Linked DNA regions of Homo sapiens: region 2 is linked to region 1. Evidence: promoter capture Hi-C in human tissues and cell types (Jung and others, 2019). All regions are on one chromosome and are shown on one strand. Each heading gives the region's core, a stretch centred on a gene start or on the middle of the fragment in contact. The rest is flanking DNA. Distances are from core to core; before and after follow the strand shown.

The links. Contacts are between HindIII fragments. The study calls those that stand out against the background at their distance.
Region 2: a fragment that was not itself captured here is called in contact with the fragment with the promoter of PALLD in region 1 in 1 of the 25 tissues and cell types used here (dorsolateral prefrontal cortex).

The regions. Positions count from the first base shown.
Region 1 is chr4:168,495,455-168,498,736 of GRCh38, forward strand. PALLD (palladin, cytoskeletal associated protein) reads left to right here and starts at 1,598. Exons shown (of 22, transcript NM_001166108.2): 1 at 1,598-1,740. All of the region lies in intron 1 of LOC107986198 (a long non-coding RNA gene), which reads right to left. The HindIII fragment of the contact is 2,790 bases long and covers 200-2,989 here.
Region 2 is chr4:168,240,778-168,244,059 of GRCh38, forward strand. The region is part of intron 30 of DDX60 (DExD/H-box helicase 60); the gene reads right to left. Among named protein-coding and RNA genes, the nearest start is that of DDX60, 76 kb to the right of the region's middle. The HindIII fragment of the contact is 7,735 bases long and covers 1-3,282 here.

The DNA.
Region 1 (3,282 bases), core at 348-2,847:
CTTCACCAGACAACAAACCTGCTGGCACCTTGATCTTAGACTTCCCAGCCTCCAGAACTATGAGAAATCAATTTCTGTTCTTTGTAAATTACCCAGTCTGTGGCATTTTGTTATAATGACACAAACTAAGACAATCAATCAGAGTTATATTTCCTTGTAAGTATAAATTTTATTTTTTTATTTTTATTTTTATTTTTTTTAAGAAGGAGTCTCGCTCTGTCACCCAGGCTGGAGTGCAGTGATGGGATCTCGGCTCACTGCAAGCTCCGCCTCCCGGGTTCACACCATTCTCCTGCCTCAGCCTCCCAAGTGGCTGGGACTACAGGCACCCGCCACCACGCCCAGCTAATTTTTTGTATTTTTAGTAGAGAGGGGGTTTCACTGTGTTAGCCAGGATGGTCTCAATCTCCTGACCTCATGATCCACCCACCTCGGCCTCCCAAAGTACTGCAATTACAGGCATAAGCCACCACGCCCAGCCGTAAGTATAAATTTTAAAATCACTTCTTAATTAATATAATAGATGAAATGACCCACAGAAGTATCCACTCACAGAAAGGACCATTTCTAAAGGACCAGTTTGGCCTATAAAGAAAATACAATAGCAGACCTTCACAAATTTTCTAACATCAGAAAAGAAAAAATATTTAGATATTAAACTGAATCAAATGTGATGGTCTTACCCAGACAAAGGAAGACTCAGCACCCCATTTCCAAGTTAACTGGGAGCTTTTGTGTTGCTCTTTTTGCCCCCCTTATATTTGATTCTGCTACCTGACCTTTAAACAGAAAAGCTTTCTCTTCTTGCTATCTATGTTTGTTATTTAAAAGATCAAAATATTAAACTCTTGCTATATCTATTTGTCATTTGAAAGATCAAAATATTAAATGATTGTGAAACATTTTTTGCAACTGTAAGAGGGTTGATACTTTTCCTGAATATTATTCATTCAACATTCATTTATTTCTTTGACAAATATTTAAGAGATGCTCATGATGTCCTAGGCATTGAGCTAAGAACTCAATGTTGCAATGTGGATAAGATCCAGTCCCTGTGTGTTCATACTTATTTAATACTATTATAGACAAGGCCTTTAATACATACCATAGTCATATATCAATTTTTAATTAGCAATATGAAATAAGAGAACAATGGGACTTTCCACTCAATTTGACAGGTGGCTAAATTTTCAGTTACTGAATTTACTATTTTAGGGTAATCTAGCACATGACCAAAATTTAAATGCACAGAACAGAAGATCAGAGTAAGAAGAGCTTCCATTTGGATTATCACTTTTTCTACTTGGAGTCACATACTGTACTTTAAATTGATTAAGAACATGTTAAAGGTCCAGGTGGTGATTTCCAGCTACAAGTCCAAAGTATAGAAGAATGTGTTTAAATCCTACGTTTATCAGATCCATAAATATAGTTCCTTCTATGTTAAGTGGCTTTATTTCTAAGAACCCAGCCCTCGGTCCTGGGGGTGCTTCCCAGCCCGCTGCTGGAATTCCTGATCGTGGCAGTCTGCTGAAACATGAGCTCAGTTACCAAATATAGCTGAGTGGAGTAAGAGGACAGATGAGAGTCTGAGGCCACAGTTGCCTCAAAGTGACCACGGACCAGGCAGTCTCTAATGAATAGGCAAGGCCACAACCTCCATTCTCCCAGAAAAGAAGAAATGCTCATCTGAAATTCATCACCTCTCTGGAGTCTTCAAACTGACCAAGCATTGAAAAGGTCTGTAAGGTGTATCTTAATATACTAACTAGTAGGGCAACATTTTAAGGACTTAAAAAAAAAAAAACTAAAAATACAAAAGTTTTTCTGAAGATATGATACTATTTACAAGATACCTTAATTATTCTTTTGCTTGGAGAGGAAACGTAATGAGAATGTTACGGTTTTGCCAAAAACAGATAATACGTAAGATTTGCCTGCCCACTTCATCTCTGCCTTTGCTGTCAGAGAATTACACTTTCTGTTATAAGCTTAAGCATGCTAAGATGGTGCTATCAATTCCAAAAGGATTAAATGTATTTATGGAGCCAGCTTTTGTCAAGATCGTGTATGTGTTATGTTTCACAGAAAAGGAAAACGCAGCTTTCTAGACCCTCACCCATATTTAAGCTAGATAAGTGATGATGGCTTAAAGTGATAGACCTTAGATTTCAGTAACATTATAAATTGTTAATTACACTTTCAAAAGATTCTAAAAGTAACTCACTGGACATAATTAAATGAGTTGGGATAGTAACAGCAGGTATTTTAAATTATATTCATGCATAAAATTTACATACATATTTTTAATAAGATAACGCTTACTAAGGGAAACCACAGTGCAATCTCGAGTCCAGTCAAGTTTAAACATCACAGAATAATTTTTATCATGTTGTTTTAAGTTGCACATGAAATTGTCTTGAATCCAATATAGGAGGTTGACATAAAATGATTTCAGGCTCATATTACTTATTAACATTTGCTAAAAATACTAATTGCCTTCTAGTATGAATAATGTGGTGACATATAAAGCCATTTCTTGGCAATATAAAACTATTACAAATCTATTCAATCACATATATGCAGAAATTAAATCCTCATTTCATGATAAATGTGCCTTCCAATGTTTTTTCTCACAGAAAGAACTTGAATACTCACCTCAATTATTCAGATTTTTTTTTCAGATTTTTAAAATCAAAGTCTCTTTGACAAGTTATTGCTAACAGCAGAAAAGGCCGATGAGGTTTATCTGGCCACTAACTGCCCTGTAAATACATGATTACACATTCCTAGAATATAAATTAGTCCTCTGGCATCCTAGAATCTGGTATGGATTAGGGTCTGTATCCCAGGGGTTCTGTGTCAGCTCTTCCTCTGGGTTTCTCTGTTATTGCTAGAGCTGAATATTAAAACTGGCCTTATAGCATATTTCACAATAGAATGAGGATCTGGATTGCACTGGACAAGTACAATCACTTTGACCTCCTTACCTCATTTTTTAAAAATGTAGAGGGCAATCATTATTCAGGTTTAAAAATAAATATGACAAGTTCTTTAAGAGATACCAAGTGGAATCTGCAAGGCCCAGACAAGAGCTCCACTTCTTAAACAATATGTGTGTGGAGGCTGTCAAAGGGTATTGCAATTACTGAGCTCCAGTTAGAAATTCAGGCCATCTAGAGTTAATGACTGTGTCCCGGTGAAATTACAGCAAAGAAAACAAAGATTGAACAAAGTATCTTCGACTAAAATTTCTAACTGTTAAATCATATTAGAGAATAT
Region 2 (3,282 bases), core at 528-3,027, 250 kb before region 1:
ACAAAAATTAACTCAAGGTGGATTAAAGACTTAAGGTACACCCCAAAATTATAAAAATTCTAGAAGATAACCTAGGCAATACTATTCAGGACATCGGCATGGGCAATATTTCATAATTGATGTGGTTTGGCTGTGTACCCACCCAAATCTCATCTTGAATTGAAACTCTCACAATTCCCGCATGTCATAGAAGGAACCCAGTGGGAGGTAATTGAATCATGGGGGCAGATCTTGCCCATGCAGTTCTCCTAATAGTGAATATGTCTTATGAAATCTGATGGTTTTAAAAAGAGGAATTCCCCTGCACAAGCTTGTTCTCTCTTTGCCTGCTGCCATCCATTGTAAGACATGACTTGCTCCTCCTTGCATTCTGCCATGATTATGAGACCTCCTCAGCCATGTGGAACTGTAAGTCCATTAAAACTCTTTCTTTTGTAAATTTCCCACTCTTGGGTATGTCTTTATCAGCAGCATGAAAACAGACTAATACAGTAAGTTGGTACCAGTAGAGTGGGGTGCTGCTGAAAAGATACCTGAAAATGTGGAAGTGACTTTGGAATTGGGTACTAGGCAGAAATTGGAACAGTTTGGAGGGCTCAGAAGCAGACAGGAACATGTGGGAAAGTTTGGAACTCCCTAAAGACTTCTTGAATGGCTTTGACCAAAATGCTGATAATGATATGGACAATGAAATTCAGGCTGAGGTGGTCTCAGATGGAGATGAGGAACTTGTTGGGAACTGGAGCAAAGGTGACTTTCGTTATGTTTTAGCAAAAAGACGGGCAGCATTTTGCCTCTGCCTGAGAGATTTATGGAACTTCGAACTTGAGAGAGATGATTTAGGGTATCTTGCAGAAGAAATTTCTAAGCAGCAAAGCATTCAAGAGGTGCCATGGGTGCTGTTAAAGGCATTCCGTTTTATAAGGGAAGCAGAGCATAAAAGTTCAGAAAATTTGCAGGCTGACAATGGGATAGAAATGAAAATCCCATTTTCTGAGGAGAAATTCAAGCTGGCTGCATAAATTTGCATAGGTAATAGGGAGCCAAACATTAATCACCAAGACAATGGGATGTCTCCAGGGCATGTCAGAGACCTTTGTGGCAGCCCCTTTCATCACAGGCCCAGAGATTTAGGAAAAAAAACTGGTTTCCTGGGCCAGGCCCAGGGTTCGTCTGCTGTGTAAAGTCTAGGAACCTGGTGCCTTGCATCCCAGCTGCTCCCGCTATGACTAAAAGGGGACAAGGTACAGCTCAGGCTATTGTTTCAGAGGGTGGAAGCCCCAAGCCTTGGCAGCTTACACGTGGTGTTGAGCATGACAGTGCACAGAAGTCAAGAACTGAGGTATGGGAACCTCTGCCTCAATTTCAGAGGATGTATGAAACTTCCCGGATGTCCAGGCAGAAGTTTGCTGCAGAGATGGGGCCCTCATGGAGAACCTCTGCTAGGGCAGTGCAAAGGGAAAATATGGGGTTGGAGAACCTGCACAGAGTCCCTCCTGGGGCACTGCCTATTGGAGCTGTGAGAAGAGGACCCCCACCCTCCAGACCCCAGAATGACACATCCACTGACAGCTTGCGCTGTGTGCCCGGAAAAGCCACAGACACTCAATGCCAGCCTATGAAGGCAGCCAGGAGGGGCACTATACCCTGCAAAGCCATTGAAGTGAAGCTGCCCAAGGCCATGGGAGCCCACCTCTTGCATCAGTGTGACCTGGATGTGAGACATGGAGTCAAAGGATATCATTTTTGAGCTTTAAGATTTGACTTTCCCACTGGATTTTGGACTTGCATGGGGCCTGTGGTGCCTTTGATTTGGCAAATTTCTCCCATTTGGAATGGCTGTATGTACCCAATGCCTGTACCCCCACTATATCTAGGAAGTAACTAACTTGCTTTTGATTTTACTAGCTCATAGGTAAAAGGGACTTGCCTTGTCTCAGATGAGACTTTGGACTGTGGAGTTTTGAGTTAATGCTGAAATGAGTTAAGACTCTGGGAGACTGTTAGAAAGGCATGATTGGTTTTGAAATGTGAGGATATGAGATTTGGGAGGGACCAGGAGTGGAATTATATGATTTGGCTGTGTCCCCACCCAAATCCCATCTTGAATTGTAACTCCCACAATTCCCATGGGTTGTGAGAGGAAACTGGTGTGAGGTAATTGAAACATGGGGGCGGGTCTTTCCCATGCTGTTCTCATGATAACGAATAAGTATTATGAGATCTGATGCTTTTAAAAAGAGGAGTTCCCTTGCACAAGCTCTCTCTCTCTTTGCCTGCTGCCATCCATTGTAAAACATGACTTGCTCCTCCTTGCCTTCTGCCATGATTGTGAGGCCTCCCCAACCATGTGGAACTGTAAGTCCATTAAACCTCTTTCTTTTGTAAATTGCCCAGTCTTGGGTATGTCTTTATCAGCAGCATGAACATGGAATAATACAATGATGAAAATGCCCAAAGCAATTGCAACAAAAGCAAACACTGATAAATGGGATCTAATTAAACTAAAGAGCTTCTGCACAGCAAAAGAAATGATCATCAGAGAAAACAAACAACCTACAGAATGGGAGAAAATTATCCATCCAACAAATGTCTAATATCCAGAGTCTACAAGGAACTTAAACAAATTTATAAGAAAAAAACAAACAACCCATTAAATAGTGGGCAAAGGACATGAAAGGACACTTCTCAAAAAAAGACATACATGCAGCCAACATATGAAAAAAACTCAACATCACCACTCATTAGAGAAATTCAAATCAAAACCACAATGAGATACCATCTCGCACTAATCAGAATGGCAATTATTAAAAAGTCAAGAAACAACAGATGCTGGTGAGGTTGCAGAGAAACAGGAATGCTTTTACACTGTTGCTGGGAGTGTAAATCAGTCCAACCGCATTGTGGAAGAGAGTGTGGAGATTCCTCAAAGAACTAGAGGTAGAAATACCACTTGACCCAGCAATTCCATTGCTGGGTATATGCCTAAAGAAATATAAATCATTCCATTATAAAGATATATGCATGTGTATGTTCACTGCAACACTATTCACAATAGCAAAACATGGAATCACTCCAAATGCCCATTAACAATAGACTGGATAAAGAAAGTGTGGTACATATACACCATGGAATACTATGCAGCTATAAAAAGGAATGAGATCATGTGCTTTGTTGGGACATGGATGGAGCTGGAAGCCATCATCCTCAGAAAACAAATGCAGAAACAGAAAACAAAACACCACATGTTCTCACTTATAAGTGGGAGGTGAACTATGAGAA